Linked DNA regions of Homo sapiens: region 1 is linked to region 2. The links are contacts of gene promoters, found by promoter capture Hi-C in blood cells and fetal thymus (Javierre and others, 2016). All regions are on one chromosome and are shown on one strand. The core of a region is centred on a gene start or on the middle of the fragment in contact, and the rest is flanking DNA. Distances in the headings are between cores, read along the strand shown.

Region 1 (5,521 bases), core at 360-2,859, 340 kb after region 2:
GCTAATTAAAAAAATTTTTTTCGGACCAGGCACAGTGGCTCATGCCTGTAATCCCAGCATTTTGGGAGTCCGAGGCAGGTGGATCACCTGAGGTCAGGAGTTTGAGACCAGCATGGCCAACATGGTGAAACTCCATCTCTACAAAAAATACAAAAATTAGCCGGGCATGGTGGTGCTTGCCTATAATCTCAGCACTTTGGGAGGCCGAGGCGGGTGGATCACTTGAGGTCAGGAGTTGGAGACCAGCCTGGCCAACACGGTGAAACCCCATCTCTACTAAAAATACAAAAGCTAGCTGGGCATGGTGGCATGTGCCTGTAATCCCAGTTATTCGGGAGGCTGAGGTACGAGAATCGCTTCCCTCTGGGAAGCGAAGGTTGCACTGAGCTGAGATTGCGCCACTGCACTCCAGCCTGGGCGACAGAGTGAGACCCTGTCTCAAAAAAAAAAAAGAAACAGAATTTGTCTCCAGAATGTTATAGATTCTTTACTGTTTACACAAAAGTCCCACATTTTATTGGTGGTGGTGGTGTTCCATGTGGAAGTCCTTTCATCACTTTATGCTACCATTGATCAGAATTATAAACCACCTCTTCCTGAGAGGTGTTTCTGGCAGACAGAGAATATGTTCAGTGAACAGAGGTACTCCCAGCTAGGCCACAAAGAATTCTTATCATGTTTTGTTTTTTTGCCTTGGTGGTGTTTAGAGTTCAGACACTACTCGCCTCGTCAGTCCACAGTCCGATCCCCAGAGAAGATGACTAGAGAAGGGTACCAAGTATCTTTTTTGGACAATAAGTCTTCAGGTTCTTCTCCAGAAAAGGAATTGATACCAAAACCTGATACTTTTCATCTTACCCATGATGCCTCATTGAGTAAATGCCTGGATGTGGGTGATTCTAGCCAGATCCATCCCTATCAGTTACCTTCAGATGTTGGTCTGGAAAATTATGACAGTTGTTATTCTCAAACTCTATCCCTGCATGGAAGTCTTGGTAAAAGGCCTCAGAGAAGCAAGAACTATCAAGAGTATAGCATAAAGCCTTCAAATGACATAAAGACCACCGCTTCACATTCCTGTGGAGACTTATTAACTTCTCTGTCAAACCCTGACTCCAGCACTGGAAGGCTTTTGAAGCTTAGTTCAGGTAACAGCTTCCTGTCAGTTTACAGGTCTTCTTCATAGGCATGAAGATAGAAGATATAAGTGAAAATTTTGGAATTAACCCTTCTGAAATTGTATTAGCATTTCTTAAGTTGTATTTTAGGGTCACCAGTGGTTCTTGGAACCTCGAGAAATCTGTAGGGTATGAGTTTAACATGATATATATATTAGGGAAAATTTGTAGGAAAGTGAGCATTGCAGCTACTTGCTATTTTAGTTAAGCAGCATCCCAGGACATCTAGTCTTTACTCACAGTCACTTCTATTCTGACTTACTTTCAGAAGAAGTTAGTTTCAGGCTGGGCACGGTGGCTCATGCCTGTAATCCCAGCACTTTGGGAGGCTGAGCCGGGTGGATCACGAGGTCAGGAGTTCGACACCAGCCTGGCCAACATGGTGAAACCCCGTCTCTACCAAAAATACACACACACAAAATAGCTGAGCATGGTGGCATGCGCCTGTAATCCCAGCTACTCAGGAGGCTGAGAGGCAGGAGAATTGCTTGAACCTGGGAGGCAGAGGTTGCAGTAAGCCAAGATCGGGCCACTGCACTCCATGGGCAACAGAGCAAGACTCCATCTTGAAAACAAAAACAGAAGTTAGTTTCAGAGTTAGTGACAGAGATCACTCTTCTGTTACTTATTTATTCAACCAAACTCATTGAACACCTACAGTGTCCCAGACACTGTTCTAGCTCTGGAGATAAAGTAGCAACCAAAATAAAGTTCCATGTATATTTTACCATAATAAGAAGACAGTCCCTACTTTCATAGAGCTTACATTCTCATGGGGTAAGACACATGATAAACATTTTAGCATGCAAATATATGTCAGGTTATGGTAAATGCTGTGAAAAAATTATATAAGGGCATAGAGCGTGATAAGGAGGAGGCGATGCTTTAGATAGAATGGTCCAGAAAGCTTCTCTGATGAGGCACCATAAAAGTAGAGACTTGAATGAAGTGGGAGTATAAGCCATGTGGGTCTGGGAGGAGAACTTTCTAGACAGTGGGAATAAATGCAAAAGTCCTGAGGCTGGAACATACTTTTCATGTACAAGGAACCTCAGGGAGGCCAGTGCGGCCTCAGCAAAGAAAGTAGAGTGTATAGATGAAGTAAGAAAGATGCCAGACTTTTTTCTGGGTGAGATCAGAAGGAGTTGGAGAGTTTGTAGCAAGGGAGTGATGTGATCTCACTTAAGAATTACTGTGAATGTTGGGCTGAGAATAGACTATGGGGAGGAGGGTAGAAATTTTTTTAAAATGCTTTGGAGAGATTGGAATCAGCGTAACAGATGATGATGGCTTGGGCTAGACAGATAGCGGTGGAGGTGGTGAGAAGTAGTCAGATTCTGAATATGTTCTGAAGATGACACTCCATGGTTTGCTGATGGATCCAGGATAAAGTGTGGGAGAAAGAGGGTCAATGGTAATTCTGTGGTTTTGAGTCTGAATAACTAGAAGAACAGAGCTTTCATTTACTAAGATGGAAAAGAATGGGAGGTAGAGATTTTAAGATAAATATCAAGAGTTGGGTTTTGGACATCTTAAGTTTCAGGTGCCTTATTAAAACTTTCCAGAGATGCCAATTTGGTAATTGGACATACTAGTCCAGAGTTTAGGGAAGAAGGTATGGCTGGAAATATAAATTTGGAGATTATAAGTGTATGGGTGACAGTAAAACTCTGAGACTGGATGAAATCTCACCAAAAGAGTGAATATAGATAGAAAAGAGATCTGAGGACTGGTCCTGAGCCCTCCAACAATTAGAAGTAGATAAAGAGAAACCATCATGGAGAGTGAGAAAGCAGCAGCCAGTAAGATAGAGGGGAAAAAGCCAAGAGGAAGTAATATCCTGGAAGCCAAGTGAAGAATGTGTTTCAAGAAGGAGGGAGTGATCAATGCTAGGTCAAATGCTTCTCCTGATAGGGAGGGAGGGAGCCTGGGACTGAGAAGTGATTATGGTATTTGGCAATGAAGAAGACATTAATGAACAGCTTCAGGGGATGCATGAGAATGAAAGCCTCACTGAGGTGAATTCAAGAAAAAAATTGGAAGCAAGGCAGTAAAGTTACTGAATATAGACAACCCTTGTATTAGTCTGTTCTCACACTGCTAATAAAGACATACCCAAGACAGGGTAATTTATAAAGGAAAGAGGTTTAATTGACTCACAGTTCCACATGGCTGGGGAGGCCTCACAATCATGGTGGAAGGTGAATGAGGAGCAAAGTCACGTCTTACATGGTGGCAGGCAAGAGAGCTTGTGTAGGGGAACTCCCCTTTATAAAACCATCAGATCTCGTGAGACTTACTATCACCAAGAACAGCATGGGAAAGACCCGCCCCCATAATTCAGTTACTTCCCACCAGGTCCCTCCCATGTCATGTGGGAATTATGGGAGCTACAATTCAAGATGAGATTTGGGTGGGGACACAGCCAACCCATATCAACCCCTTCAAGGAGTTTTGCAGTAAAGGGAAGCAGAGAAATGGAACTAGCTGGAGAAGGGATGGGGTCAAGGAGATCCTGGTAGAAGTGATCTAGTAGAGGGAAAACTGATGATGCCAGGGAGAAAAGGGACCGTTACAAGAAAATGGAATCCAGTCCACCAGTGGAGAGGCTGGTTTTAAATAAAAGCACAGATAGTTCATCTATTGTAATAAGAAGGAAGGCAGAGAATTTATTAATACAGATACAGGAGAGTTGGTAGATTTGATGGTGTGATCATGTAGATGTTTTCTTTGATTGCCTCTCAGGGAAATAAAGGAGGTTGGCACCTGGGTGTAAGGAGGGAAGAGAAGGTGTTGGAAGTTTGAAGAGAGATGTGAAATATTTGTCTCAGAGAATAGAAGAGTAAATTGGCCAGAGTATTATATTAGGAGATGCCGGGCACAGTGGCTCACACCTGTAATCCCAGCACTTTGGGAGGCCAAGGCCAGCAGATCACTTGTGGCCAGGAGTTCAAGACCAGCATGGCCAATATGGTGAAACCCCATCTCTACTAAAAATACAAAAATTAGCTGGGCATGGTGGGTAGACCCAGCTACTCGGGAGGCTGGGGCAGGAGAATATCTTGAACTCAGGAGGCAGAGGTTGCAGTGAGCCGAGATTGTGCCACTGCACTCCACCCTGGGCAATCGAGCGAGACTCTCTCAAAAAAAAAAAAAAAAAAAAAATCAGAAGAACTGGGCACCACTAAGGGCGCAGTTACAATAGTGGTCATGAGTTTAAAGTGAGAAAGGTCAGAACAGATGCGTTTTTTTCTCCAGCTATGTTCCCCTGCTCTGGTGTAGGCTTGGAACATGTGGACGGTTAGATTTAACCAGAGTTGGAGTTTTGTCAGAGAGTTGAGGATGTATGCTAGGGAGTGGTTATTATGACCCTTGGACTACAGGCAAGGTATGGATAGAAGTGAGACATGAGGCAGTCAGAGGGCAGGTTCATCTGTTAGCCTGTTTCCTCCACAGATCTGTATGCCACAACCCATTTCAACAGTGACCCTGCTGTACTTGTCAATGTAGAGCAACAATTATCTACCAGCCTGGATGATTTAACACCAGCACATGGTTCTGTCCCAAACAACGCTGTCCTGGGAAACAGGACAACTCCTCTGCGGACACTGCTGTTGTCTCCTGGGACTTCAGAACACAGAAAGATTTTTACCAAGAGGTCACTAAGCCCATCGAAGAGAGGATTCAAATGGAAGGACAATATCCTTGCCAACCTGAATCTAAAGCATGGTTTCCAAGATGCTACAGGCAGCGAGGCAAGTGTTGGCTTGTTTGTGTTTGTGCGAGAAACAGGTCAGGTTCGAGACCAGAATGAGGGTTCTGTTGGGAATGGAGGTGGTTCTGACCAACAGGGCTAGAAATTCAAAGAGATTTTCAGAGGCTGGTGGCTAATACTGCCAAGCTAACACCTGTTGAGCCTTCTGCCCTTGGGAAAGTCATTCCCCCACTGCTGCCATTTTCTCACCTATATCACAGGGAGAACTGTCCCTGATCTACTTCCGGCTGAAGATTGAACTCTGTAGCATCTATGTTTACAGTCTCATCATATTTACACATTTGCTTCGGCCACACATGAAATAGTTCTTATAAAAGCATTGCTTCAGGCTGGGCACAGTGGCGCATGCCTGTAATCCCAGCACTTTGGGAGGCTGAGTGGGTGGATCACCTCAGGTCAGGAGTTCAAGACCAGCCAGGCCAACATGGCGAAACCCCATCTCTACTGAAAATACAAAAATTAGCTGGGTGTGGTGGCGCACGCCTGTAGTGCCAGCTACTCTACTCGGGAGGCTGAGGCAGGAGACTCACTTGAACCCAGGAGGTGGAGGTTGCAGTGAGCCGAGATC
Region 2 (5,730 bases), core at 1,762-4,261:
TGCTAGGATTACAGACGTGAACCATCGCTCCTGGCCTTATTTACTTTTTCAAAGTCTGTTTCCTCATCTCTCAGGAGACAGAAGACCTGACTTAGAAGATGGTTGTGTGGGCCGGGCGCGGTGGCTCACGCCTGTAATCCCAGCACTTTGGGAGGCCAAGGCGGGCAGATTGCCTGAGGTTGGGAGTTCGAGACTAGCCTGCCCTTCTCTACTAAAAATACAAAAATTAGCTGGGCGTGGTGGCAGGCGCCTGTAATCCCAGCTACTCAGGAAGCTGAGGCAGGAGAATCGGTTAAACCCGGGAGGCAGAGGTTGCAGTGAGCCGAGATTGCACCATTGCACTCCAGCCTGGGCAACAGAGTGAGACTCCGTCTCAAAAAAAAAAAAGAAAGTGGTTGTGTGAATTAACTGTGATAAGGTGCATGAAGGCACCCTGAACAGAGCTTCACAGTTGCACTAGGCAAGTGAGGGTTCCTGCGCTCTCCTCAGCTTCATTGTGTATTATCTACTTACCCACCCAAGATCAGCTTTAGGAGCCTGCAGGAGCAGCCACCCACCTAGGAAGTTAGGGAGATACTCAAGAGGAGGCCCTTGGTTGGCTTGAATCCTTACGAAAGGAAGATTCCAGATGACCGGACTTCAGATAATTCAGTCAGGTTTTGGGACGGTGGGGGCAGATGTTTCTTGGCACAGAAAAGACACCTCTAAGCCTCCATGAGTGGGCCTTAGTAGAGCTGGATCTTAGCAAACCCCCTTAGCAAACACCCATAGCATGGTGTCTGGGCCAACCCATACCCAACTCAACAGCTGCCAAAGCTGTTAGGAGCACAGACTTAAGTGTACCTTACATGGGTGAAAATTTCCTTTATAAATTTCCTTTAATTCTGTTTTTTTAAATAAGTGAAAAAAAATTAACAACCAAAAAGGCATATAGAGGTCAGCCGAGGAGATGGCCTCCTTCAGCCTGTGGCTTATTTCCCGGTCATCCTGGCTGTTGGATGCCAGACTACGACGAGTGTGGGTTACCCTGTGGCCTGGAGTTGCCCAAGGCTGTCTGTGGGGCTGCTGTTCTGGGTCTGCTTGGCAGGCTTTGCTGTCCCTTTCCCTTAGGACATCGTTCCTCCCCTCCTTGAGGCTGACAATGAGAGCGCCCTGCCCTGCTCTGCACTCCCACCCCTCCAGGTCTAGCTCCCTTGACCCTGACCTTTTCCTTGCCTAAGCTCATGGCCATCAAGGCCATTCTAGAGATCTTTCAATTTTTATTTATTCCACATTTCCCATGGCAGAAACAATTATTGCTAGAGTCTTTGGCCAAGATCAACTTGGAGGTCTGTGAGCCCTCCTTGGACCCATTGTGGAGCAAGAGTGCTTCCTCATGGATTTTTTTTCCCCCCGAGACGGAGTTATGCTCTTGTTCCCCAGGCTGGGGTGCAATGGCACGATCTTGGCTCACCGCAACCTCTGCCTCCCAGGTTCAACCAATTCTCCTGCCTCAGCTTCCGAGTAGCTGTTTGAGACGGAGTCTTGCTCTGTGGCCCAGGCTGCAGTGCAGTGGCACCGTCTTGGCTCACTACAACCTCCGCCTCCCAGGTTCAAGCGATTCTCCTGCCTCAGCCTCCCGAGTAGCTGAGACTACAGGCGTGTGCCACCACACCCCGCTAATTTTTGTACTTTAGTAGAGATGGGGTTTTGCCATGTTGACCAGACCGGCCTCGAGCTCCTGATCTCAGGTGATCAGCCTGCCTCGGCCTCCCAAAGTGCTGGGATTAGGCCAGGCGCAGTGGCTCATGCCTGTAATCCCAGTACTTTGGGAGGCCGAGGCGGGCAGATCACCTGAGGTCAGGAGTTCGAGACCAGCCTGACCAACATGGCGAAACCCCGTCTCTACTAAAAATACAAAAAAATTAGCTGGGCGTGGTGGTGGGTGCCTGTAATTCCAAATACTCGGGAGACAGAGGCAGAAGAATCACTTGAACCCAGGAGGCGGAGGTTGCAGTGAGCCGAGATCGCGCCATTGCACTCCAGCCTGGGCGACAGAGCGAGGCTCTGTTTAAAAAAAAAAAAAAAAAAAAAAAAAAAAGAGGGCTGGGATTACGGGTATGAGCTACAGTGCCCGGCCACAGGACTAACTTTGAATCAAACTCTGCCATAAATCCCATGTCAGACTTTCTCCAGTTTGGGCTAAACAACTTCCCTAGAATTTATGGATCTTATTTTTTGCAGCTGATTGCACATTGAGTAAGTATATGGACTGGCAATCGGTTACATTCTTAACTCAGCTTGTTCTTCTTTAGAAACTTAAATTTATTGGGCTCCCACTGTGTGCTAGACCCACATAAAGGTTCTCACGCTAACACTGCAAACCTAGGAGTGTCTGCATTTTGGAAATAAGGAAACTGAGGTTTAGTGGTCCAATTCTTATCTAAGGCCCCAGCCAGCAGGTAGTGTAGCTGAGTGGGATCCCATCTAAGACCCATCTGACTCCAAAAGCCACGACCTTTCCACCATGACTCGGTTGGATTCTTTGGTCCGTTTCCACCTCAGTCTTCAACGTGCAGAGCCTACACCCCTGCCGGTCGGTTTAGGGACGAAAAGTCCCCAAGGACTTAGGTTTCCTCGCGTTCAAGTGACAATCTGGGGTTACTCCGCGCACCTGGGGAACCCAGAAGTTCCAGATGACCGAGGAAGGGCGGTAGAAAAGGCCTGCGCTGGCTACTCCCGTCTGCTAAAGGCCAGGCGGATCCCCCAACGACAGCTCCACGCCGAGTGGCCGCGGGCGAGCAGGGGGAAAAGGGCCCTGATGCGGAAGGAGCCCCGGGGCGCCACAGCCAGGCCGCTCCGCCAGCGGGCGGGTGGCGCATGCGCGGCGTGGGCCGCGGAGTTGTGAATGGTGCGTCTTGTTTGCCGGAGTTGGAGGCGGGCGGGCGCGCGAGGAGGAGGGGTGGGGCCGGCGGGGGCGGGGTGGGCGGTGAGAGGAAGTGGCGGCGGCGGCGGCGGCGGCGGCCGGGGGCGGTGAGCGCTGGGGCTGCGCGGGCGGCAGGCAACGGCTGAGGCGGCGGCGGCGGCGGCGGCGGCGTGGGTTGGGCTCGAGCGGGCGGCGGCGCCTCAGACTCCCCGGAACGGGAGCCCACGCGGGCGGGCGCCTGAAACAAAGGGAAGCGGGCGTCCGGGCGCCGCGGGTGGGCGGTCAGTCGGTCAGCGCGGAGCCAGCCAGCGGGTGCCCGCGCAAGCCCCGAGCGCGGCCGGCCGGCGCGGCCTCAGGGCGGGAAGATGCCGCGCGTCGTGCCCGACCAGAGAAGCAAGTTCGAGAACGAGGAGTTTTTTAGGAAGCTGAGCCGCGAGTGTGAGGTGAGGCAGGCGGGCGGGCGGCTAGGAGGCCGCAGCGCGCCCCGAGTGGGCCCGGGCGGAGAAAAGTTTGGGCGGCACGGTCCCCGGGAGTCCCGGTCGGTGCGCCCGCGGAGGGGCAATCTCGCCGGGGCGGCCATCGCCCGCAGCCTCTGCTTGCCCTTATCGGCGCTGCGCTGGGAGGGCGGGCGCGCGGGCGGCGCCGCGGATTTGGCTCCTGATTTCGGGCCGTCTTGCCTTGCAGATTAAGTACACGGGCTTCAGGGACCGGCCCCACGAGGAACGCCAGGCACGCTTCCAGAACGCCTGCCGCGACGGCCGCTCGGAAATCGTAAGTCGGCTGGCCCGGGGCGCGCGCGGGTCACTTGTTGCGCGGGGCCGCGGCGGCCCAGGCCGGTTCCGGACGGCGGCGCGGCTGCTGCGGCTCCCGGAACTGAGTGGGCGCCGTCTCACTTCCTACTCGGGATTCAAAATGCGAAACCAGATGCCGCGGGCCGGTACTCGCGGGGAGACGCTTTTCCTGGGGCTCGCCGCGGTGGCGCGTGTCGGCCAACGGAGCACCGCGAGTGGAGCTCGAACCCGAGCCAGACTAAACAAGCGAAGGGCATTGTTTAGGCGGCGACACCGAAGAAGGGTTCAGGGTATTTGTAGCAAGCAAACCCCCATTCGGAAAAAGAAGTGGAGCTTCATTCAAGGTCGGCGATAGTTTGTTTCTTAGAAGGTAGATCTGTCGGTAATTCTCTGTGTCAAGCGGTCTCACTACCAGATCGCCGAGTAGAAATCTTTCCTCCAGTTATTTATTCTAATAGAGAGGGGAGGGGGGGGAAAAGGCCCTAAAAATGTCATTTTCTTAGAATGTTAAGCTTCAGGAGAATCAGAAAGAAACCATTATCCCCATGTCCTGAGTAGGGCTGCTGTTCCTAAAAACTGCACAGATGGGCAAAACCCACGGTTGATCTCGAGGTCCTTGTTTTAGGAGGCAGATTTAGTGCGTCTTCACCAGACCTTGGGTTGAAAAAAAAAATCCAAGGGTCCTAGTTCCTCTCATCTTTTTGGTTTGCCTTGTTGGAGGTGCTGATGAGGAGGGAGTGGTAGGAAGAAACCAAGAAAAGAGGTTGATTATTACTATTTTTTTGAGGTAGAGTCTTGCTCTGTTGCCCAGGCTGGAGTACAGTGGCTCGATCTCGGGTCACTGCAACCTTCGCCTCCTGGGTTCAAGCGATTTTCCTGCCTCAGCCTCCTGAGTAGCTAGGATTACAGGTGCCTGCCACCACGCCCGGCTAATTTTTGCATTTTTAGTAGAGACGGGGTTTCACCTTGTTGGCCAAGCTGGCCTCCTGACCTCAAGTGATCCGCCCTCCTCGACCTCCCAGAGTGCTGGGATTACAGGCGTGAGCCACTGCGTCTGGCCTGATTATTTTTTAAAAAGTTGAAGCACTGTCTAATGGAATGCTGTTACTCTCTGCTCGGTGACTTGGACTCACTGCATTGTTAGAGGCTTGAAGCTAGGTGCGATTTGAATTTGGGTTAACAGTAGGAAGACATTGGAAATTTACTTCTCCCACCCCCTTTATAAAACCAGTTTATTTTTATTCAGATATAATTCATATGTCATAAAATTCTCCCTTTACATCACTGAACTCAAATTTATTTTTAAAGAATATTTTGATATTTTAAGTGAAAGCTTTTTAGAGTTGTAATAGTGAGAAGATACTGGTTAAATTTATCAGGAGCTCCTGAATATTTGGTCATTAGTGCATGTTATGAAAGAGAGTCTCAAGCTTTTAGCCCACTTGCAAATTTCTTGAGTAATTGTAGTATTTATATGATTGAAGTGCATAAGACATACTTTTAGGTTTTGGCACTGAGTGGTATAATAAAAGAATTCATTAGCTGGTGCGATGATCGTGTCATCCTTTGCCTGGGTTACCTTTTGCAAAGGGAAGGTGGTATACCTGACGATAGAATTTCCTGGAGGTAAAGGATGCAAGTATAAAAGATAAGTTACAAAGTACTTGTACTCTCACTGTTTGCTTTTTTGTTTTGAGACGGAGTCTCGCTCTGTTACCCAGGCTGGAAGCACAGCAGCATGATCTTGGCTCGCTGCAACCTTCGCCTCCTGGGTTAAAGCGATTCTCCTGCCTCAGCCTCCTGAGTAGCTGGGATTACAGGCACACACCACCACGCCCGGCTAATTTTTTTGTATTTTTAGTAGAGACGGGGTTTCACCATCTTGGCCAGGCTTGTTTTGAACTCCTGACCTTAAGTAATCCTCCCACCTCGGCCTTCCAAAGTGCTGGGATTACAGGTGTGAGCCACCGCGTCTGGTCTTGTTTCGTTTTTTTTTTTTAAGAGAGAGGTCTTGCTGTGTGGCCTAGGCTGGGG

What was found. The method cuts DNA at HindIII sites, captures the fragments that hold promoters and counts their contacts. A CHiCAGO score of 5 or more calls a contact.
Region 1: a fragment that was not itself captured here is called in contact with the fragment with the promoter of CBFB in region 2 in 1 of 17 cell types (erythroblasts); the score reaches 5.4 in erythroblasts.

Annotation. Positions count from the first base shown.
Region 1 is chr16:67,366,310-67,371,830 of GRCh38, forward strand. It overlaps LRRC36 (leucine rich repeat containing 36), which reads left to right. Exons shown (of 14, transcript NM_018296.6): 8 at 708-1,148; 9 at 4,635-4,933. Among named protein-coding and RNA genes, the nearest start is that of TPPP3, 24 kb to the right of the region's middle. The HindIII fragment of the contact is 947 bases long and covers 1,137-2,083 here.
Region 2 is chr16:67,026,138-67,031,867 of GRCh38, forward strand. CBFB (core-binding factor subunit beta) reads left to right here and starts at 3,012. Exons shown (of 6, transcript NM_022845.3): 1 at 3,012-3,348; 2 at 3,590-3,676. The coding sequence starts at 3,271. RefSeq lists an enhancer at 2,275-2,414 and silencers at 2,975-3,164, 3,255-3,494, 3,745-3,794. The HindIII fragment of the contact is 7,418 bases long and covers 1-4,206 here.